Regions from separate parts of the Homo sapiens genome. Here all the other regions are linked to region 1. The links are contacts of gene promoters, found by promoter capture Hi-C in blood cells and fetal thymus (Javierre and others, 2016). All regions are on one chromosome and are shown on one strand. Each heading gives the region's core, a stretch centred on a gene start or on the middle of the fragment in contact. The rest is flanking DNA. Distances are from core to core; before and after follow the strand shown. Region 1 holds the start of HEATR5A (HEAT repeat containing 5A). Region 2 overlaps G2E3 (G2/M-phase specific E3 ubiquitin protein ligase). Region 3 has its middle 27 kb from the start of RNU6-8. Region 4 overlaps G2E3-AS1 (G2E3 antisense RNA 1). Region 5 has its middle 50 kb from the start of RNU6-8. Region 6 has its middle 7.7 kb from the start of RNU6-8. Region 7 overlaps G2E3 (G2/M-phase specific E3 ubiquitin protein ligase).

What was found. The method cuts DNA at HindIII sites, captures the fragments that hold promoters and counts their contacts. A CHiCAGO score of 5 or more calls a contact.
Region 2: a fragment that was not itself captured here is called in contact with the fragment with the promoter of HEATR5A in region 1 in 1 of 17 cell types (activated CD4 T cells); the score reaches 6.5 in activated CD4 T cells.
Region 3: a fragment that was not itself captured here is called in contact with the fragment with the promoter of HEATR5A in region 1 in 1 of 17 cell types (activated CD4 T cells); the score reaches 5.3 in activated CD4 T cells.
Region 4: a fragment that was not itself captured here is called in contact with the fragment with the promoter of HEATR5A in region 1 in 2 of 17 cell types (total CD8 T cells and activated CD4 T cells); the score reaches 5.2 in total CD8 T cells.
Region 5: a fragment that was not itself captured here is called in contact with the fragment with the promoter of HEATR5A in region 1 in 11 of 17 cell types (M0 macrophages, total B cells, total CD4 T cells and 8 more); the score reaches 8.4 in M0 macrophages.
Region 6: a fragment that was not itself captured here is called in contact with the fragment with the promoter of HEATR5A in region 1 in 4 of 17 cell types (activated CD4 T cells, non-activated CD4 T cells, total B cells and 1 more); the score reaches 7.7 in activated CD4 T cells.
Region 7: a fragment that was not itself captured here is called in contact with the fragment with the promoter of HEATR5A in region 1 in 2 of 17 cell types (naive CD4 T cells and activated CD4 T cells); the score reaches 5.8 in naive CD4 T cells.

Annotation. Positions count from the first base shown.
Region 1 is chr14:31,419,235-31,422,682 of GRCh38, reverse strand. HEATR5A (HEAT repeat containing 5A) reads left to right here and starts at 2,133. Exons shown (of 36, transcript NM_015473.4): 1 at 2,133-2,211. HEATR5A-DT (HEATR5A divergent transcript) reads right to left here and starts at 1,925. Exons shown (of 4, transcript NR_110045.1): 1 at 1,706-1,925; 2 at 715-839. RefSeq lists enhancers at 1,813-1,962, 2,393-2,442 and a silencer at 2,553-2,672. The HindIII fragment of the contact is 6,619 bases long and covers 1-2,820 here.
Region 2 is chr14:30,601,062-30,603,994 of GRCh38, reverse strand. G2E3 (G2/M-phase specific E3 ubiquitin protein ligase) reads right to left here. Exons shown (of 15, transcript NM_017769.5): 9 at 2,101-2,225; 10 at 1,864-1,996. Among named protein-coding and RNA genes, the nearest start is that of SCFD1, 20 kb to the left of the region's middle. The HindIII fragment of the contact is 2,745 bases long and covers 1-2,635 here.
Region 3 is chr14:32,229,119-32,232,295 of GRCh38, reverse strand. No RefSeq gene overlaps it. Among named protein-coding and RNA genes, the nearest start is that of RNU6-8, 27 kb to the right of the region's middle. The HindIII fragment of the contact is 712 bases long and covers 1,123-1,834 here.
Region 4 is chr14:30,548,806-30,551,951 of GRCh38, reverse strand. All of the region lies in intron 3 of G2E3-AS1 (G2E3 antisense RNA 1), which reads left to right. Among named protein-coding and RNA genes, the nearest start is that of G2E3, 8.8 kb to the left of the region's middle. The HindIII fragment of the contact is 198 bases long and covers 1,722-1,919 here.
Region 5 is chr14:32,251,152-32,254,423 of GRCh38, reverse strand. No RefSeq gene overlaps it. Among named protein-coding and RNA genes, the nearest start is that of RNU6-8, 50 kb to the right of the region's middle. The HindIII fragment of the contact is 2,285 bases long and covers 417-2,701 here.
Region 6 is chr14:32,209,441-32,212,540 of GRCh38, reverse strand. No RefSeq gene overlaps it. Among named protein-coding and RNA genes, the nearest start is that of RNU6-8, 7.7 kb to the right of the region's middle. The HindIII fragment of the contact is 3,413 bases long and covers 144-3,100 here.
Region 7 is chr14:30,566,681-30,569,961 of GRCh38, reverse strand. The region is part of intron 1 of G2E3 (G2/M-phase specific E3 ubiquitin protein ligase); the gene reads right to left. All of the region lies in intron 2 of G2E3-AS1 (G2E3 antisense RNA 1), which reads left to right. Among named protein-coding and RNA genes, the nearest start is that of G2E3-AS1, 9.0 kb to the left of the region's middle. The HindIII fragment of the contact is 825 bases long and covers 906-1,730 here.

The DNA of each region.
Region 1 (3,448 bases), core at 884-3,383:
ATCCCAGCTACTCAGGAGCTGAGGCCAGTGAATTGCTTGAACCCGGGAGGCGGAGGCTGCAGTGAGCCAAGATCACACCACTGCACTCCAGCCTGGGTGACAGAGCGAGACTCCGTCTCAAAAAAAAAAAAAAAAAAGAGAGAGAGAATTTAAGGCTGGGTACAGTGGGTCACACCTGTAATCCCAGCACTTTGGGAGGCTGAGGCGGGTGGATCGCTTGGGCCCAGGAGTTCGAGACCAGCCTGGGCAAAATGGTGAAACCCTGTCTCTACAAAAACAAAAACAAACAAACAAAATTAGCCAGGCACAGTGGCACACCCATTGTCCCTGCTACTTGAGTGGCTGAGGTGGGAGAATCACCTGAGCCTAGGAGGTTGAGCCTGCAGTGAGCTGTGATCAGACTACTGCACTCCAGCCTGGGTGACAGAGTGAGACCTTGTCTTCTTGTCTCAAAAAAAAAAAAATTACACACACACACACACACACACAACACAGAAGCTAGAATGAATATGAGACCTTGTCTTCTTGTCTTAAAAAAAAATTGAACACACACACACACACACACACACACACACACACACATATCACAGAAGATAGAATGAATGGGGCCCCTACCCACCAAACTTGGGATAATTGAGCATCAAAATAAATAATGATAGAGACAGAATATTGGCTGGTGTGGTGGTGTGCATGCCTGCAGTCTCAGCTACTTACCTGGGAGGCTGAGGCAGAAGGATCACATGAGCCCAGAAGTTCAAGGCTGTAGTGTGCACCATGATTGCATTATCGACCTGTGAATAGCCACTGCACTCCGGCCTGGGCAACAAAGGAGGCCCTGTCTCAAGAAAAAAAAAAAAAAAAAGAGAGAGAGAAAAGAGAGAAAGAAACGGATTATAAGTCATTTAACAAAATAGAAACCTCTGGATCCATACTAATTAATATAAATACATTAACTGAAGATTTGATGAGAAACAAGATATTTACAAATATCTTGAAAGGAGAGTTTCAGAGTCTCCCTCACAAAATACTTATTAATTTACAAAGGGGGGAAAAAAGTAACCACACTGGACAAGCCTAACAGACATCACCTTATTAAAGTAAACATCTGTAATGAGAGAAGTTAAAATCGTGCCACCTGATAGGGTGCCATGAGAAGAAAGCAGCAACACTTCTAGAGTCCTGTCATACCTAGCTAAATGTAATCATGAGTAAATATCAGACAGACCCAAAATGAAGGCCATTCTACAAAAATAACTGGCCAGGAATCTTTAACAGCGTCAAGAATATGAAAGGCAAGGCAAGACTGAGAGTTCCAGTTTGAAGAGTAGGAAAGATACATGATAAGTAAATACAATGCCTGATTCTGAACGGAATCTTTTACCATAAACAATATTATTGGGACAATTGGTAAAACGCCGAGTTATGTAAATGTTTTGATTTTGATGGTTATATTGTGATTATGTAGAAGGTGCTTAGGGACAATGTGGCATGGTGTCAGCAATTTAAATCTCAATTCAGGGAAAAAAAGTTCTTTGTACTATACTTGCAACCTTTTTGTAAGCTGGAGATAGATTCAAAATGAAACTTGAAAAATGACATTTAAAACGCTGAGTGTAGTGGGAAAACGCACATGACTCAAGGTAAGAGGCTATTAGTCTCAGTTCTGCCATTGACTTAGTATGTGACCTTGAGCAAGTCACTTTACCTCAGTCCTCACAGTCAAGGCTCTCTAGGGTCCCTTCCACGTCTAACATCTACCCCCACAGCACTGGCCCCGCCTGAATTTCTCCAGGCCCTTTAGGTGTCCCAGAGCTGCACCCAAAGACTCTGGCTTACGATAAAAACAGACAAAAATAGTTGTGGCCGGAATCTCCGGACTGAAAAACCGCTGTCCTAATCCTAACTTGGGCCGCAGTCTCCATCGCTCTTTCGACGGTGAAGCAGTCACGCCTGCCAGAGTGGGCGCTCGATGGCTCGGCGGCCAGCTGGCGGGGCCTTGGACCAGCGGCCCGGCGCAGGGCGCGCTCCCAATCGCTAGCTCCCGCGGTGCTCGCCGCTGAGAGCTTTCCGGCCACGCCCCACGCGCGCCCCGCCCACCTCAATGCCTCGCTGTCGCCGCCGCCGGCAATTCCAGACTCTGCTAGGGTTAGCAGAGCAGCCGGTAACGTTGCTGGACCGGGACGCACGCTCAGCTGAGGAGGACCCCCAAAGGCAGGCAGTCGGGGATCCAGGGAGCGGGGACACCTCCGGGCGCGAGGGGGCTGTGTCTGGGCTGCCTGTTGGCTGGGAAGGAGAACGCACCAGGGCCGCTGTATGAGTTGAGCGCTCGGGGATCCCGAGGGTGGTCGCGGCAGCAATGTGATCGCGAAAGAAGCCGGTGGGAGAACCGGTCGAGGGGCTAGGTGTCTTGACCCTAAGGGCTGGAGTCCGCCGAGAAGGGGCTGACTGGGGCACAGGGTCGGCTGATAAACAGCGTGGTCCGTTCTTCCTCCTGGACTACGGGAAAGTCTGGCTTCACCTGTGCACAACAGGTAGGCGTGGACTCTGCCCGCCAGCGGGAGCCGGGGTTGCCGGGCGTGTGGGGAAGGTCAGCAAGTCGGAGCCCGCCTCGCCAACTCGCCGCTCCCGGGACCCGCCCTGCGGCGTCCGCTGCGCCAGTGGTCAGCCAGGAGCCGGGCCCCGGCCCGGCCTTCGGGCGAGCTTCCTCAGAGGCCCGTTCGTTTTCTGCAGGAACCCTCAAAGAGAGTTCCCAGAAGGGAGCAGTGGAGAGTGTGGATATTTGCTTTCTAACTGTTGCAGTTCTCTCCAGGAAAGAAAGCTTTTCCTTTGGTGGCATTTGCTTAGTGTGAGGAAACATTTTCTTTCACCCTACTCTCGGCCAACGCGGCGTTATTTCAAGTGATTATAAAGTCTTTAGAAACTTTATAAAGCGTTTTATAGTGTTTATTTATCACAGTAATGGATACCTCTGGCAAGTTGGGATAATTTTCTTGACTGTCAAGTCAGATAATAATAAAATGGCTTGAGCTCCTACATTAAAGGTCATAGTTATCCATTGTTTTTATGTGCATTCATTTATTGAACAAATATGCAGCACTTTTTTGGGGCTAGGCGCCCTTAAGGAATTTACAGCCTGAAAGATATTAGAAGTTTAAGGAGGAAAAAAAGGGGCCCACAAGTACACTTAAGAACTTCCAGAGAAAATACTCCCAGTGAAATTACTTAAGCTGTAGGGAAAGCAGAAGTGTGGTTAGAATTGAGCATTAGTTGGATGGGGAGAGGAGAATTTTGTTTAATTTTCCAAACATTTTAGAAAGTATGTCTTTGAGAAAGTAATTTTAGATAAAGTATCGAAGCCGAGATTTGTGTTACATTTTAATGCCATTGACTTTTTTTTTTTCTTCACTGATAAGCAGGCAGGATTTATAATATAAGAATAGTGACAGTT
Region 2 (2,933 bases), core at 14-2,513, 820 kb after region 1:
GTAGAGCTAACACAAGTGGCATAGTAAAACAGATATTCTTCACATTTTGAAAGAGTACTTAATATTCTACCTGTCTGCAAATCCAGTTATCAAATGTTTTCACAAAAATTCTCTTTACTATCTTCTAAGGTTTTAAACTTGAAACTTTTTAGAGACAAGGTCTTGCTGTGTCACTCAGGTGAGAGTATAGTGGCATGATCATAGCTCATTGCAGCTTGAACTCCTGGGCTCAAATGATCCTCCCACCTCAGCCTCTTGCCTAGCTAGGACTACAGGTGCACACCACCATACCTGGCTATTTTCTCAAAATATTTTTGTTGAGACAGAGTTTCGTAATATTGCCCAGACTGGTTTCGAACTCCAGGGTTCAAATGATCCTCCCACCTTAGCCTCCCAAACTGTTGGGATTACAGGTATGAGTCACCATGCCCAGCCTGAAATTATTTTTAACAAGAAAGTATTTCATCATGCTTAGCGACTAATTTTCTACTTCTTCCCTATTGGGTAAAGCAAGGCTCTAAAAACTCTTTTGCAAATCTATATAAACTTAAAAATCTTAACTACAGCTGAACAAATACCCAACATTATAAAGATGTAATTCCAGTCTTATTTAAATGTTTAAGATTTTGAAAGTAACTTATTATTTTGCTACCTTTTTTTTTTTTTTTTGAGACAGAGTCTCGGCTCTGTCACCAGGCTGGAGTACAGTGGCGCGACCTTGGCTGACTGCAACCTCCGCCTCCTGGGTTCAAGCAATTCTCCTGCCTCAGCCTCCCAAGTAGCTGGGACTACAGATGCACAACACTATGCCCAGCTAATTTTTGTATTTTTAATAGAGACGGGGTTTCACCATATTGGCCAGGATGTTCTCGATCTCTTGACCTCGGGATCCGCCCGCCTAGGTTTCCCAAAGTGCTGGGATTACAGGCGTGAGCCACGATGCCCGGCCTATTTTGTCTCATGGGAACAGAAATTAATTTGATAATAGTATGTATGCCTTAAACTTTCTAAAGGGAAGAGCTGACATTTAGACTCCTGCCATTGACAGTAAACAGGCAAACAATGATTATAACATCAAAAAATGGCAGGGCATAGTGGCGCACACCTGTAATCCCAACATTTTGGGAGGCAAAGGTGGGAGGACTACTTGAGACCAGGAGTTCAAGACCAGTCTGGGCAACATAGCAAGATGTCCATCTCTACAAAAATTTAAAAATTAGCCAAGCATGGTGGCATGCATCTGTAGTTCCAGCCACTTGGTAGGCTCAGGTGGGAGGATCACTTGTGCCCAGGAGGTCGGGGCTGCAGTGAGCCATGATCATGCCACTGTACTCCAGCCTGGGTAACAGAGCGAGACTTTATTTCTAAAAAAAAGAAAAAAGAAAAAAAAATTTCTATATTAAATAGGATTCTTTCCTTTTAATAAGGTGACACGGTATGCTTGATATTTTACTTTCCTGTCTTACTCTATAATCAAATAACATTTTAAGTACATTTTCCAGACCAGTGTTTTTCAAACTATCTTGAAAGTGATCTATAATAAAAAATATATTTTACATCATTACTCAGTACACAAAAAAATAATTAGGATAGATACACTTTTCCCACGTATGATGCAGTAGGATAGATACACTTTTCCCACGTATGATGCAGTTTGGTATTTTGTATTCTATTCTATCCCATTTCATTTTCTTTAAAATGCTGGTTGCATTGATTTCATGATCAAATGTTGGGTCCTGAAGGCTGAAAAACATTCTTCTAGACTACTGTATGATCACCTAATATTCTAAATGTATATGGCATTTCCTATCATAATTTTCTCCAAATAGATTTTTATGTATTTCTCCAATTCAAAATACATACCTCAGTAGATCTTTACTCTGGGATCCAGGTGACTGTCTGGGTAATTTAGGTGATGACTCTTCCAACAAACAATCTGTAATCCCCACATTATTAGAATTGGGTAATACATGTTTTTTGGCTTTTTGGAACTCTCCTACAGATTTAAATTTCCATGTTAGCATAATAGAGATATAGGTAAAAACTTTTAAATCATATACATTTGAATAAAAACTTTATTCAAAATTACAAAAAAATTACCTGAATTGTAGATAATACCCCTACATTCCAAACACTCCCAATTTTGCTCCCATGACCGTAATGAGGAGCAGGCTAAATGTGTGCCACTGGAACCACAACACTGACAGCGCTTTATTTCCCATTTGCTGAGGACACAAAGAAAAGCAGAACTTACATTTTGTTATTATTCTAGTTTCAACCACTAGCAATGTCCACAGGGCCTGCCTTCTTACACACAAACACGCACACACCCGCCCAATCGATTTACTAAAGGAAGAAAAAGATTATCTGCTTCTCTAAATATCTCTAATGTAAAAACCAAAACTAACTTATCACACTCATATGCACATACAAAGAATATAAACAAATATTTTGTATGTATATGCACATACAAAGAATATAAACATCAGACAAAATATGACTAAGAGGGAGAAAATAAATTTTCCTTTCTACTTAGAGATGACTATGCTTACAGGGAGATTGCTGTGTCAGTGTGTCTGATATGGAAGAAACATTCAGTAAATTTCAAGGTGAGGAATATTTCCTAAAATAAGCTTGCTCAAACACCTCAGGTATTGTGCAGTTCAACAGAATCCAGATCTACCTGGCTCATATTTATATTCTCTGTCATCTGTTCCCAGCTCCATGTTTCCCCACTGTGTTATGTGGTGTATGCCAGTCCATATTCATATTTTCTCCATGACTACAAGTGTGGGCTGTAGTGTAGGGCTCCAGCCTTTTTGTTGGGTATGACTATGCCTTCTCTGTTTAGAAACAGATTTAGCTCCCCGTGTGTGTGAGTGGCAAGAGAGGTAACTAGATATCATCCCTACCCCAGAGGTGGGGGCATATCA
Region 3 (3,177 bases), core at 229-2,728, 810 kb before region 1:
TATCCCTATTTTACAGAGAAGGAAGTTGAAGCACAGAGAAGTTGAATAATTTCTGCCTGCAGTCACATCATTAGTAAGTAGTAGAGCAGGCTTTCAACTCAAGCGTGTCTGATCTTTAAAATAATAATGGTGGGTTCTTATATAGCATTAAGTGCCAGGCACTGGTCTAAACACTGTAAATACTAACTTACTCAATCTTCACAATAACCCTAGGAGAAAGGTACTATTTTTACCACTGCCACTATACAGATGAGAAAACTGAGGGGTAAAGTTCAGCAACTCTTTTAAAGTTGCAAAGCTAAAAACTGGCAGCACCAGAATTCAAACCCAGGCAGGCTGGTTTTAGCATCCATACAGGCCTTACCCACTGCCCATACTGCCCCCTCTTGCTCTCTGTAACTGGTTCTTTCTATAATCATTCATTCAAATATTGCTTAGGCCCCTACTATGTACCTAACACCTTACCAGGAATTGAAGAAAGATTACCAGTATTTGACAGGATACCTCCCTCAGAGAGCAGTAATCTAGATGGGCAAAACCAGTGAAAGAATATAAGAAGGCTGTTACTAAAATGTGAGGTGAGGCAATGCATGCTAGGGTACCAGGAGGACTTGAGCACTGGCACAGACAGGAGGGCCTCACAGAGCACTGAAGGTGAGTTTCCAGTAGGGAGAATAACATGTGAGCAAAGATGAAAGTGAAGAGAAGGACTGCAGGAGGAAGGAGGTAACCCCTTCCCATGCCAGGCTCTGCATTCCTGTTTCACATGTATTATGTATCTCATTTAGTCCTCCTGCAGGCCTATGAAACATCCTTAAAAAAGAAAATGAGGTGCAGAAATTCCAGCAATTCATACATGATCACACAACAACCAAGTGACAGAGCTAGGTTTGTCTGCCTCCGACACCCTTTCTCTAAACCTGGAACCTTTTCACACAAGCAAATGCCAACCGATGAGGCCAGGGTAATAGGCAAACGTTGACAGGGCCAGGAAGAATCTAACCATTCTGATTTCTAGAACCCTTAATGGGCTCTTTGTCTTTCTTCCATTCCCCAGAGGAGGAGTACCTGCATTTTCAACTTAGAAATCTCCTCCTACGGTGTTCCCACTGCAAATAAGCTTCCTCTCTACAGACTGACAAATAGTGATTTGCCTATTTGCAGCCCTCTAAAGCCAGCCAAGCCAACCAGAGAATGGGCCTGGCTAAAGCAGGCTCTGGCTCGTGGATCCAGTTGGTGAGGGGATACAGGCCAGGCTTAGGGAAACTCAAGGATCCCCTAATACAGCTCCTTTCCCTCCTAACAGGGAAAAACTGAGGCCCAGAGAAGGGCATGAGTCACTCAAGGCTGTACATTCCCCTATCCCCAACACACACAAAAAAATTCTTAACCCCATAAAAGTGCTTTGGCAAGCAGGGATCTGAAATTCCTGCAACAGCTTGGGGAGGAGGTAACTAAGAATCTGCCTTCCCACATAGTCTGTCTTTAGACTCCAGTGCTGCTAAGAGTAACAAGTACAAATCTGTTTACTTAGCAAGGTTGAGGCTTGACTCAAATTTTGTGTTGTCAGGATGGGGATGGGGGTGGAAGGGCATCTAAATGTGAATCATTAGATCTTAATCAGCAACGTGGGGAGTGGGATGTTTTGGGAAAGTGTACCTTCTTGAGCACCTTGGACTTGCTTTATTCCCTCTCCAAGGAAAGTAGGCCTGATGGTACAGCAACCCCTTGCAGCCTCTTATAAGAGGCTCATAGTACTCATCACTGCCTATAACAGAAATATAGATGTTGTGATGCTTCTGCCTGTACCCTTAGGTGGCCCTCTAAACAAGCTTTAAGTAGTACACCTAACTGCAGCAAAGGAGAATCTGCTGGTCAAAGAGCAAAAGCAGCACCTATTACTTCATTGTCAGAGTGTTTAAAATGTGTATCAAGGTCATTACTCATCAAATTTTCCCTCTGGGAACAGATAAAGTCCGTTGTTCTTTCTAAGGCCAAACGACTGTGTGCTGCCTGCCATTAATATTTCCTGTCACTCTTCAATTCCATTTTCACTAATCATCACATTAGACCATAGCCAAAAGACGTAACTTTAAAAAAATGTGCTTACCTTAATGTGCTCAGAGTATTTATAGGTCAATTTCCCTGCTGGTTACTATTAGCATAGTTTTATAATGTATAAAGAGTATTTCTTCTCATTCTCTTTAACATTAGGTAAAATCCTCAGAGGGAGCAGAACCTAGATATGTTTAAATAAAACAGACCAATGACCTAGGGCTATAGCATTCACACAGCAGTGGTTTGATATGCTTTTTCCCCCCCCTATTCTAGGACTTACTGACCAAAAGCACACTGAATTATTTAGGAACCTAGAGACTGGATGACCCAAAGGTGAGGAAGGTGGACCTTTCCCTCTGTCTTTAAATTCTCTATTCCCCAAGTATGCCTCTCTGTGTTTGCCTTCTAGCTCTCTGGCTACTCACAGTTAGGTTTATTTTGTACCTCCCTTTCTGCCAAGACAATAAATGTTGGTATTTCCTTGAAAAAATGCATCTACTCCCATATCTATTCCCATATCTACATCATAAACTCCCAAATTTGTACTTCAATTGATAGCTCTCTTCAGAACTTCAGGTCCATTCATCCAACTGCCACCTACACATCTCTAGGATGTCCCACAAGCTCCTCAAACTCCAACTGTAGAAAACTGAACCCACTGTTTTCTCTACCACCTTTCCTCACCCATTTCTTTCTATGGTCCCTGTCTTATTGATGGCACCACACTCCATCACTGCCCAAATCAAAGACCTGGGAATCATGCTTCACCCTTTGCTCCTCCTCACCCAAACTTCCTCACATCCTGCCAATTCCCTCTCTTGAATCCATCTACTTTTCTCCACTCACTAGCCTAGTTCAGGCCAAAATCCTCATTTCCCCAAATTGCAATAACAGCGCCCTTACCTGTCTTCCAATCCATTCTTTACATTAAGCCCAGTAATCTTTATAACATATATATCTTAGCATGTCACACCCCTTGCTAAAAACCCTTCTGTTACTCCGCTCTGTTTTAGGGTGAAGCCCAAATGCCTTCACCAACTGAAGAGACCTGTACAAGTTGGCTTTCAGGCTGGGTGTGGTTGCTCATGCCTGTAATCCCAACACTTTGGGAGGCCGAGG
Region 4 (3,146 bases), core at 571-3,070, 870 kb after region 1:
ATGTTGTCTGCTATCAAACAGAAGTCTTTTCTTCATTGTCTATTTACTTGGATCTTTTGATCTAAAGTGTTCATCTAACTGCTGTTCAGTCTCTTGTAAGTTAAACACACCTCCTCCTGGCAGCAGGAAGCAGCATCCAAAACAGCGAATTTCAGGTCTTTTGTTTCAGGGTTGTTTGGATAATAAGTAGCTATACAGTAACCACAGTGATTTGGATTGACATCATGCCTGCTGGGTAACTGTATGGATTTTACAAAGGACTCAAAGTTTGCTTGTAGCCAATATGAGACATGTGTTTTAATATAGGTCAAAGATGTGGTATGTTTATGTTAACATTACTCCTCTCTAAGTTGGTGTTTCAAACAAATGATTGTCTGGATTGCTTTTTAAAATTGCTGTCTTTTGGCCTGAAGTGTTTACATAGAAATCAGAGCCTCTTTACAGTTAAGAGTAACTCCAAATGCAGGAACACACATTGGTAATGCCACCCAGAATAAATCAAGTAATGAACAACATGCTTGAACTGAATCTTTAACATTCTTGGATACAATTGCTGGCAATCAAAACTGTTTTCAGTTTGTGTACTTTGATTTTTTAATCCCTCCCAGAATACTTGCGGAAAATGACTCCGCAACTGAATTGATAAAGTGACTCAGTTATAATAAGCCCAATCCTTACCTGAGTGTTTTGTTGGGGGTGAAAGAAAACTTCAAATTCTCACAAAGGTCTAGGGCACAGAATCATCACTTAGGAAGCAGGCACTTGCTCAAAGTTTAGCTTCAACACTTAGGGCCATTCTTTAGGAAACATTTTTCAAGGATAGTAAGTAGTGCAATGTTAAGAGGCGAACCTGAAAGCAAAACAGGCTGAGGTTTAAATACTAGCCGTTTTACTTACTAGCTAAGTATGAAGTACCCAATCCTTTGAGCTTCACTACACATTAATCAGATGTAAATAATAACTACCTGACAGGTTTCTTGTGAGCTCTAAGTGAGAGGACATTTAATGGTAATTATAATTAGGCAAATGGGTAAGACATACAGTTAACATCCCCTTCCTTCTCCTTTCAATGGCATCTGGCATTCCATGCCCAGTATCCTTAGGCTTGTGAGCCACTGAAAGGCACAAAGGAACTCTCCTCCCAGGTGGATCTTAGCCTCATATTCCTTTTCTCTGCCCTTCAGAACATATGATACATTCCTTAGTGACCTGCTGTCTACTTTCCACCTTGGTAGTGATTTGAGTTAATCCATGTTTATAGAAAGAGCTAATAAACTAGCTCTAATAGGTCATATTTGTAGCTGAAATAGTGAGAATTTCAGGGCAGTTTGATGTAATGTTTGCTATTTAACCCCTGTACAATTTTTTAAATTGTTTGGGTTTGCAAGTCTAGTATCTCCAAGTTGACTCACTTCTTAGGTATTGTACAGTAATAGATATTAAACTTTAGCCTTCCCACAGTGGTCATAATGGGGCAATGAGTCTTCCTGTAGGTGAGGTTAACTAATAAAAGGTATATGATTGGAAAAACATAAAAGGAACTAACATTTGTTTAATGCTTTCTACATTCAAAACACTGTGCTAAAACTAAATGTTGATTTACTTAATCTTGACAAAGTAGGTGATGAAACTAGGGCTTAATAAGATTAAATAATTTGTCCAAGGCCACAGTAGGCAGAACTGGTATTTTAACTATAGCTTGTTTGGTTGGACACAAAGCTTGTTCATTTTCCATTACAATATTTCAATTCACACACCCAGCAGAGATAGGAGCAGTGATAAGAAACCTAATATTAATCTAAAACAATTAGCTAATAGCAAAGTTTTTTTTTGTGAGAAATTTGCTTGTTCATCTATAGAACTGTAGGACGTTAGTTTAATAAAGAACCTCAGATATCATCTAGTATTAGGTAGAAGCTTTGTTAATATTAGTACAGAGACGACTTTTTAGTACTAGACTGAAGGATGAATTAGATCAACAATTTTCAAAATGTGGTTCATGAGGTCAAACTATCTTCAAAATAATACTAAGACCGTTTGCCTTTTCACTTATATTCTCTCACAAGTGTACAATAGAGTTTTCCAGAGGCTGCATGGGGTGTGATATTGCAACAGACTGAATGCAGAAACTGATATGAAAATCCAGTGATTTTCTTTTTCTTTTCTTCTTTTTTTTTTGAAATGGAGTCTCACTCTGCCACCCAGGCTGGAGTGCGGCAGCGTGATCTGAGCTCACTGCAACCTCCGCCTCCCGGGTTTCAGTGATTCTCCTGCCTCAGCCTCCCTGGTAGTTGGGACTACAGGCACCCACCACCACACCCCGCTAATTTTTTTGTATTTTTAGTAGAGACAGGGTTTCACCGTGTTAGCCAGGATGGTCTCGATCTCCTGACCTTGTGATCTGCCTGCCTTGACCTCTCAAAGTGCTGGGATTACAGGCATGAGCCACTGTGCCCAGCCAATCCAGTGATTTTATATTAAATTATCCACCAGAGAGATTTATATAAAGGTAAAACAATGCCATTCTTCTCACTAAATTATTTTTGTTTTAGAAAACACAAATATTTATGTTAGCATGTAGTTTCATAACGTTATTTTAAATAACAGTCCCACCCTTCAGCCCAATAGTGGGCAGCTGTGAATATGTTTCTGGAGCAGCTTGCACACAGCTTGCAGGAACCAGAACAGGCAAAAAGGACCATGTCCTAAAAATATTGGGGATCTGTGCTGTGATCATTGATTGCTGCATCTGATCACAGAGGTATAGAAAAAGAGGTGGTGGTCATTACGGTTGCACTAACCCCCATTGTTGCAAACCCTCCCACTCCTCTGGCTAAAGTAATATCCAGGAGATTTAAAGAGGCAGAGCCTTTTCTCTCCTGTTATTTTTCTCTGTCTCCCCTTATGGAAGTAAGACATTGAAGACTAGGACATTCAAAAGCAACTGCATATGTAAGGAAAACTAGAAAGTCACCACACACGCCCAGGTGAAGGTGCAGGCTCAGCAAAGACCAGAGAAGGCCTTAAGTTTAAACCTCAGGCTGATCCTCAGCACAGACACAACCTATAACAATAACAGCAACAAAAATAATAATAAAACCCAAAACACCAGCAAAACCTAGGGAAGGGAGAGAACCTGATTTCCA
Region 5 (3,272 bases), core at 310-2,809, 830 kb before region 1:
TTCATCACATGCACCTATAAGGGTGTAGTTACAAATTGTCTTTTCTAAAGAAACCCATGGATTTTACATTGCCTCTTTCCAAGGAGAAAAGTCATACAGTATCCAAAGTTACACAACGGGTCAGGAGAACAGCCCAGAATACCTGTCAGTGTCTCTCGATTGAAGTGTTTATTCACAGAAGCAAAGTCATGTTTAAAGCTGAAAAAGTATTTCCTAAAATATACTCTAGTTGAATATTTCAGGTACAATAGTAAGTAGGTCACTTGCTCTCTAGGATTCAAAGAATATGGGCCTGCATTACTCTGTTTCTGCCCTGAACAGGAAAGTTAAAAGGAAACACTGCACAACAAGAAAATCCACAGCACACAGCTATTTAAGCAGCTGTGGCTTGGGGGTCAGGTCTATCACTGAAAGCTTTATAGATAATCTTCAAAACTAATTTGACCCACAAAAGTAAAACCAACTGGGCTTTCCCAAAAAATCTGCAAAAACCATATTCATAGTATCACCCTCCCTTCCAGATAATTTATAGTCAGAAATTGAACCCAAGAATAAATGCCCTAGAAATATTTTTTTAAATAGCCTAAATTTGACTGTCAAATCATGTTCCTTCTCCATGTTTTTTTTCAGTGTCTAATCTGGTCCTACTCCTACCCCCAAATAATTTTCCAGGGGTCCCAGGGGTGCCCCATGCTCTACACACCTTCTTTTTTTTTTTTTTTTTTTGAGATGGAGTTTCGCTCTTGTTACCCAGGCTGGAGTGCGATGGCACAATCTTGGCTCACTGCAACTTCCGCCTCCCGAGTTCAAGCAATTCCCCTGTCTCAGCCTCCCAAGTAGCTGGGATTACAAGCATGCACCACCACGCCCGGCTAATTTTGTGTTTGTAGTAGAGACGGGGTTTCTCCATGTTGGTCAGGCTGGTCTCAAACTCCTGACCCCAGATGATCCGCCTGCCTCGGCCTCCCAAAGTGCTGGGATTACAGGTGTGAGCCACCGCACCCGGTCCTACATCTTCTTGGATGCTATCTGCCACACAAAATAGAATAAGAGCTAGAAGGGACCTGACAGGAATACAGCTACTTCTATAGATAAGGAAAACTTGGTCCTGAAACAAACTCACCAAGGCTACAGCTTGCTAGTCCCAATATTGTAATTCCACCCCCCAGTGTCCCATCCCTCTAGGTCTCATCAGGTCATTCATTTTCACTAGAAGTAAGTGTAGGTCAAAGCAACTGGATTCATTACTACTCCTCTCAGAAAACAACTAACAAGGGGTTTTGGTTGAGAAATTTCAGAAAAAAACTGGTTGGTTGGTGGGGAACAATTTTGAACGATGGGTACTTTCCATGTCCTCAAATCACATTCTGCCTGTAAATAAATCACACTTCAAAAATACAAACATAAGAACTGATCTGTAGTGACCCGCTTATTGGCAACTGTAAAGAATGTAAGCTGCATGAGGAGAGAAACTCTGTTTTATTCACATCTGTATTTCCAGTATGTAGAATAGAAGCTGGCACTGAATAGCAGCTCAACAGCAAATATTCGTTAAATGAACAAAATGAAGAAAGCATCCCTCTTTTCTTCTCTCTATAGTCCATCCCCACCCCCATTTTGTTCTCTTAAGGTCTAGTTTCCTTAATCAAAACTATGTTCTGAGGTAAATATCTACCTGTCATTTATACTTTCGTAGCCTTTAAGTCACTGCTTGGAGTGTTTGGAATTTCAGTTTCACATCTAACAAAAGGCTTTGAACCCCCATCGCAGGTCTCCAGTCTCAGCCAACAATGGAAGGCCTTTGTGGCCAGGCCTTTCTGCACATATGGCCAAGATTTGGATTCTTTGGAAGAATAGCAAACTATTCATTGGAACAGCTCCCTTCCCCAGTGACCTCTTGATTCCCTCCTGTGGCTCTCCTTAGCCTTCATATCCTTGTAAAGTAATCTAAAACCCTATCTTCCTGCTGTCTTTATCTTCCTTTCTCAGCTGTCAAAACCTGGAAGACATGCTGCTGTTGCATATTTAGCCTCAACTATATTGTTTAATAAATGCCAAGTTGCCAGTTTCTCACACTCCACTCTATGAAGCCAGAACACCTCACCTTACTGAGTTAACCAGGAACCCATGCTCACCCTATAATACACTAGGGGGTGCTGTTGCTATATCCAGACCCAGTTGCTGTAGCCCGACTGGAAACAGGAAAAGGAAACAAGGGAGCCTTCAGGGTCCTGAGAGACATTTCTAGATGGGCCACTCTCTGCACAAGCCCTCAGCACAGTTCCTCAGAAGCAAAGAACATTATACCTTACCAAGCCACACAATTCCAGAATGAAGTTCACAAATGGTACAAAAAGAAGGGAGGGCTGAAGATCTCCAAGCGAAAGGCTTTATTGTAAGACTCATTAACATACATGGGCCTACACAATCATATTTATGCCAGCTGCTAGATGTGAATAATTAATGCTCACCCTGCTACCAGTTAAAACTCTGTTTAGACAATCAAGTGGCAAATACTGTCAGGCAGAATCGGATACAACAAATGCAATCATAACAGGCGAGAAATACTTGAGTTTATCACTGATTTTCACAATCATCTTTCCTTGTATGTGATATCTAAGACTTTGGGAATGAAAGTTTTATATACAAACAAATGAGTATCCACCTCTCTCAGCCCGCGGCTTGGCTGCTGCACAAAGCTTCCAAGCTGCCAGGGAAGCCTCCTTGGCCTCACTTAACTCTTTGCTGAAATGACTGGTAGACCCCATATGACAGAGAAAGCTCTCACATACATCAAAAAGGCTTTTGGCCTTTCAAATTTCTGAATAAGTCATCATGAAAAAAGAAATATTTTGTTGGGTTTGTGGATTTTTTTAAGATAAGTTTTAAAATGTGCATTTTAAAAAAATTATCTGAACGAGACCCTCACCTAACAGTGTGAACGTTAAACATTCCCACACAGAGAAGAATGGATCTCCACCAAGGGAAATATGTCTGGTATTAATCCAAGAAGAAACAATCTAGCTCACCCTCCCTGCCCCACAAGCTAGGGTTTCATACCCTTTGTGGTATGATTTGCAGTACTCCTCACAAAATGCTAGTAAGAACTCATTAATGCTAACAATTGAATTGGAACTATCTTTGGCTCCAAAAGCAACCCAGCCAAGCTAGAAACTTGAAGGATCCCAAAGTAAATCAAGAGGAACTAAGACAAAGGTGCCATTCTAGGGCCAATCTTCACAGAATGGTTTCCCTTTTGCCCTGAATCCCAT
Region 6 (3,100 bases), core at 601-3,100, 790 kb before region 1:
GTCTTAATTTCCTCAAAGAGACAGCAGATCTTACCTCTCTCATTTTCATCATGTATTTAATAAACAGGACCCAAATGTACAAAACGTTTGTGTTAAAAAAATTAAGAAACATGTTAAACAGATAATACCTAATATTCTAAGCTTTGGGTGGCAGGGAAGGTGACTGGCCCTAAGTTTGCTTTCCCTTAAAGTTACACCGTTTCCTTTCCAATGTTGTTGTTTTTAACTGGTCATAATTTCCAAGATAACAGCTGACTACTGGGTTGTATTCCTCAGCTTAAGAATTGTAGGCAAGTGCTCTTCAGGATGTAGTGAAGGTCTCTGATGCAAATGCCCAAATGTTTTTGAATTAATGAATTATAAAAATCCGGCCGGGCATGGTGGCTCACACCTGTCATCCCAGCACTTTGGGAGGCCGAGGTGGGCAGATCACAAGGTCAAGAGATGAGACCATCCTGGCCAACATGGTAAAACCCCATCTCTACTAAAAATACAAAAATTAGCTGGGTGTGGTGGCATGTGCCTGTAGTCCCAGCTACTCGGAAGGGTGAGGCAGGAGAATTGCTTGAACCCAATAGGCGGAGGTTGCAGTGAGCCAAGATCGTGCCACTGCACTCCAACCTGGAGACAGAGCGAGACTCCATCTCAAAAAAAAAAAAAAAAACTAAAATAAAAAATAAATTTAAAAAATTCCAATCACCGCAAACCTTAAAACTGAAAAGTTTCTCACCGCAACAACAGCAATTTACACACCTGCTATGCTTTGCAATGTAAAGGCACAAGCGTTTCTCACAGATCTTTCTGTCAACCCTAAAAGGCAAGCAGGGTAGTTATTATCCCCATTTCATAAGAGAATGTGGGTTGTTCAAGGGCTGGGACTGGGGTTTGAATTCTGACCATCAGACCAAAATATCGTTCCATGACACCCAAAACACACAATTAATTAAAAAGAAATTTTTTTCACTCTGTAAAAATAATTGGACAGGAAGATTTGATTAATAAGTGTTTTACTTGCAATTAACACTATCAAATATGACAACAGGGGCAGCCTCAGTTTTTTTGGTAGATTGAAACTTAGACTTCTTGGTAAACAAAAACCTTCATGAGCTGTGTGAATGAACAGAGTTGATGGGGGGAGTGAAATCACAGCGTCAATAAAGAGATGTGAAATGTAAAGGCTTTATGCACCTTGGGTCCTAGCATGAGAAATTAACTCCTACCCACCTTTACAACCCAGGAATATACAGAGCCATTCCTAGAAGCAGTGAGGCTGGCCCATAGAGGCGATCATGTAGGAGGGCCTGAACAGCCACCAGGGGAAGAAGTGAGTGGAGGCTCATAATAGGAGTCCAGGGGTGTGTGTCACTCAGACCCACTGTTCTAGAATGATTCAGGTTAAACCTAGCTAGAGTAGAAGTGGCTAAGATTAAAAAGTTAATTACAGGCCAGGCGTGGTGACTCATGCCTGTAATCCCAGCACTTTGGGAGGCCGAGGCAGGCGGATCATGAGGTCAGGAGATCAATACCATCCTGGCTAACACGGTGAAACCCTGTCTCTACTAAAAATACAAAAAAATTAGCCAGGTGTGGTGGTGGGCGCCTTTAGTCCCAGCTACTCGGGAGGCTGAGGCAGGAGAATGGCATGAACCTGGGAGGCGGAGCTTGCAGTTAGCTGAGATCACACCACTGCACTTCAGCCTGGGTGACAGAGCAAGACTTCGTCTCAAAAAAAAAAAAAAAAAGTTAATTTCAAAGAATAATCTCATTAATAGCTTCCTAAGACCCTGAGAACCCAAGACAACATTGTTTTGTGATACTGATTGCGCTGAAGAGCAGCATGAGAAGACATCACGGTGTAGAAGTTATTTCTGAAATCGCCCCCATGTGAGCAAACCCTGTCTCACCATGAAGTAAGTGAGGTAGAGTCATGGAAAGATGTTGTTACAGTTGTGTGACTTTATTATACATTATTTCATTCAGAAAGTATTGAGGTCAGACTTTGTGGCAGGCATTGTTGTAGACAGTTGGAATACAGCAATAAATAGAACAGATGAAGTCTTGCTCTTTGGAAATGTTATTCTAGTTGGGGAAGACAGAAAGCAAGCAAAGAAATAAATACGTGTGTGATGGAAAGAGCTGCCACGAAAAAAGTAAAGCAGGATAAAGGGAATATGACTTGGCAAAATGCAAGTTGTGTTTCTGCTTTAAATCTGTTTTTATAAATCATTGAAAATCCATTTGAATAATCTTAGTAGTTGTGAATGTTGAGGATCATTTCATAATGATAACAGAATCAATTCATCAAGAAGACACAGCAATCCTAAATACGTATGTAACAGGAGAACTTCAAAATACATGAAGAAAAAAATGTCAGAACTGAAAGGTCAGATTGAGAACTCTGGAATTACAGCTGGAAATTTAAACAGTCCTCTTTGAATAACTGATGAAAGATATACAGAAAATAAGGATATGCATGATTTGAACATTATCAACTAAGTTGGCTAAATAACCCATGTGACAAAGAAAAATATTTAAAAATATAAACACAGTACAATAAAATTTGTAGGATTTAGCTAAAGTAGTGCCTAGAAAGAAATGTATGGCTTTAAATGTTTGTATTAGGAAAGAAAAAAGGTCTAAAATTAACAATCTAAACTTCTACCATGAGAAACTAGAGAAAGAAGAGGCAATTAAACCAAGAGTAAACAAAAGGGAGGAAATAATAAAAGGCAGAAATCAACAGAAAATGAACAATTCTATTTTGGGTTTCCAAAAAACCCAAAAACTGGTTTTTCAAAAAATGTAATAAAACTGATAAATTTCTGGCCAGATGGATCAAGAAAATAAGAGAGAAAATACAAAATACCAACATCAGCAATGAAAGAGACTACACTACATATACTATACTACAAAGATTAAAAGAAAATAAGGTAATATGAAAAATTTCATGCTGCTACTTTAGGACAAAACTACTGTTTTCCTTGGAAAAAAACAGAAGCACATACAGAGTTATATTTCTTTGAAATAGCTGTTTCTAAGTGTAGTCAACCATGTAACTATCACTTTTAACCAAAGTAACTTCTATTTTGCAGAGAAAAGT
Region 7 (3,281 bases), core at 69-2,568, 850 kb after region 1:
TAACGTAATTGTGAAAAATAAATATTCTGAGCAGACAAGGCAGAAAAAGCATTCTAAGTAGAGTGTGTGCAAAGGTACAACAGTGTGTGAAAGCCTGGGATGTTTGGGGAATGTCAGGAATTTCTTCTGGAAGTTGCTCTTGCTGATTCTGCCATTTGGTTGGATTATATAAATCTCCTTGGATTGGATTATCAGATAGTAAGTAATATAATCCCCCCCCTTCACCAGCTGGTCCTAACCCTGACTTCGTGGGCAGGTCTTATTCCAGTCCTAGCCCCTTCCACTGACCAAGTCAGGCTCTAAATAACCAGCCCAATCCAAAGTACCCTTCTTAAAGCAGGTGGCATCTTTTTTACTACAGTTCAGGCAATAAAGGCTATTCTGTCACAACTCCCACAGAACCAGGTCTTCTCCTGTCTAAAAAATAAGGCCTTAATTATATTTTAACAGGACAATGTATCTGCTACCTTATGTGACAGAGCAATTAAACTTTTAAGATTCCAGGCAGGACCCAGGCAGAGGAACATGGCAGAAAGAACATTACACTTGAATTATACATTTTCTGTGTTTGAACTCCTTGCTCTGCCTTGTGTCCAATGGAGATGATAATACCTACCTATTAGGGTTCTTATATGCAAAGCAGGAGAAGTAATTCGATGGAGAGAAGGAAGGGTGAAAGGAATTCAGAAAGATCAGAAGTTTCTGAGATCAAGAAAGACCATAAAGTTTTTAGGTCCCTAACTGTTAATGGTGGTTATCCCTGGGGAGAGAGAAGGGGTAGGGGCTTTTTCTTTTAATTTCTTATAAATTTTGGCATTGTTTGACTTTTTACAATGAACATAATTATGTACTTAAAATATATTTGGCATATATATTATACCTCAATAAAAAGTTTCTTAAAAGCTTATATTCTCTGGAAAATCATCCAGGAGACAGACAAGAATGGCTGTTTCTCAGAAGGTCTGGTAGACCTGGGGTCTAGGGTGAAAGGGAAACTTTTAGTAGATCTGTCCTACTAGAGATGCTAATGGGACACCAGACAGTAAGTCAAAGCCATACGAGGAAATAAAAACACCAGTAAAGGTAATTACAGAAGTAAATATAAAAGCCAGTAGTATTATTGCACTTTTGGTAATTCTCTTTTTCCTTTATGATTTAAAAGAAAAACACGTAAAATAAATATAAATCAATGTTATTGGGCACATTATGTATAAATGTAAAATAAGCAAAAAATATAAAATGTAATTTGACACAATAACATTTAGGAAGAAGGATGAGATATACAGAAGTGTAATTTTTGTATACTATGAAAGCTGAGTGGGTATTAATTCAAACTAGGTTGTTATAAGTTTAAGATATTAATTGTAATCCCCAAGATAGCCACTAAGAATATAACTAAAAAATATGTGCAGAAAAGGTAATGAGAAGGGAATCAAAATGGTACACTATACAAATCAATTAAACAAAAGGCAATAAGGAAGGAAATGAGGAACAGAAAGATAGTATTTAGAAAACAAATACTAAAATGTCAGAAATCCTTCCTTAACAGTAATTAAATGTAAATGAATTACACGCTCCAATTAAAAGGCAAAGGTTGACAGAATGAATTTTTTTAAAATCCATACATACACTATCTACTAGGGTCAAGCTATAGATATCAAAACACAAATAGATGGAAAGTAAAATGACAGAATAAGATACTTCATACAAACAGTAATCAAAAGTAAGCTTGGGTGTTTATACTAATGTCAGACAAAACAGGCTTTAAGTTGAAGATTGTTACAGGACTCAAAGGACATTAAAGACTGACTAAAAAGTTCAATCCATCAAGAAGACATGACAATTATAAACACAAACCCACCTAATAAGAGCCCCAAAATATACAAGGCAAAATTTGACAGAAATGAAAGGAGAAATAGTTTAGACTTAACATATACAGAACACTCCACCCTACAACAGAATGAAACATTCTTCTCAAATGCACGTGGAACAATATCCATGGATATACCATGTTAGACCACAAAATAATACATTTTACAAGACTGAAATCACACAAAATATCCTCTCCAATGACTATGGAATGAAACTAGAAATCAATAAAAGGAAAACTGGAAAACTGAGAAACATATGGAGATTAAATAACAACTTTAAATAGACAAAAAGTCAAAAAAGAAATCACAAGGGAAATTAGAAAATACTTAGAGACAAATAAAATCAAGCCCCCAAAACAATGACCCAACTATATGCCCAAAGAAACTAGAAAAAGACCAAACTAAACCCAAAGCTAGCAGAAGGAAGGAAATAATTTAGAGTCCAGATAATGTAATAAAAAAATTTTTAAATTGAGAATCAATAAAATAAAAATTGCTTGAGAAGATCGACAAAATTGAAAACGTTTAGTTAGATGACCCAGAGAAAAAAAAGAGAAGACTCAAATTACTAAATCAGAAGAAATGAAAGTGGGACACTGCTACAGACCTAATACAAATAAAAAGAATTAAATGAGACTATTATGAACAATTGTACTCTAAGAAGTTAAAAGTTAACAAATTAAACAATAGGTTAAACAAATAACAAAAGTGACAAGAAGAAATAGAAAATTTCAACAAATCTACAAACAAGAGATTGAATCACTAATGAAGAACCTCCCAACGAATAAAGTCCTAGCCCAGATGGGTTCACTGGTGAACCCTATTAAACCTTTGAAGAAAAATTGGCACCAATCTTTCTCAAACCCCTCCAAAAGATATTATGACACTTCCTAACTCATTTTATGAAGCCACCAATACCCCGATACCAAAGCCAGAAAAAGACATCACAGAAAATAAAACTACAAGCCAATTATCTCTTATGAACATAGATGCAAATATCCTTAACAAACTACCAGCAAACTGATTCTGATAAAGAAAATTTTGTACCATAACCAAGTGGGATTTATCCCAGAAATGCAAAGGTGGTTCAGCATATGGAAATCAACCAATATAATATACCATACTAATAGAGAAAAAGGAAAAGGTCACATGCTCATCTCAATAGATGCAGAAAAAGCATTTGACAAAATACAACTCATTGATGATAAAAACACTCAAACATTTAGGAATATAAGGGAACTTCCTCAGCATCTATGGAAAAACCTGTAATTAACATAATTATCAGTGAAAGACTGCACACTTTCCACCTAAGATCTGGAACAAAACAAAGATACACACTTCCACCACTTGTAGTCAACACTGAACCAGAAGGTCTATTCAGAATAATAAAGCAAGAAAGCAAGAAGTAAC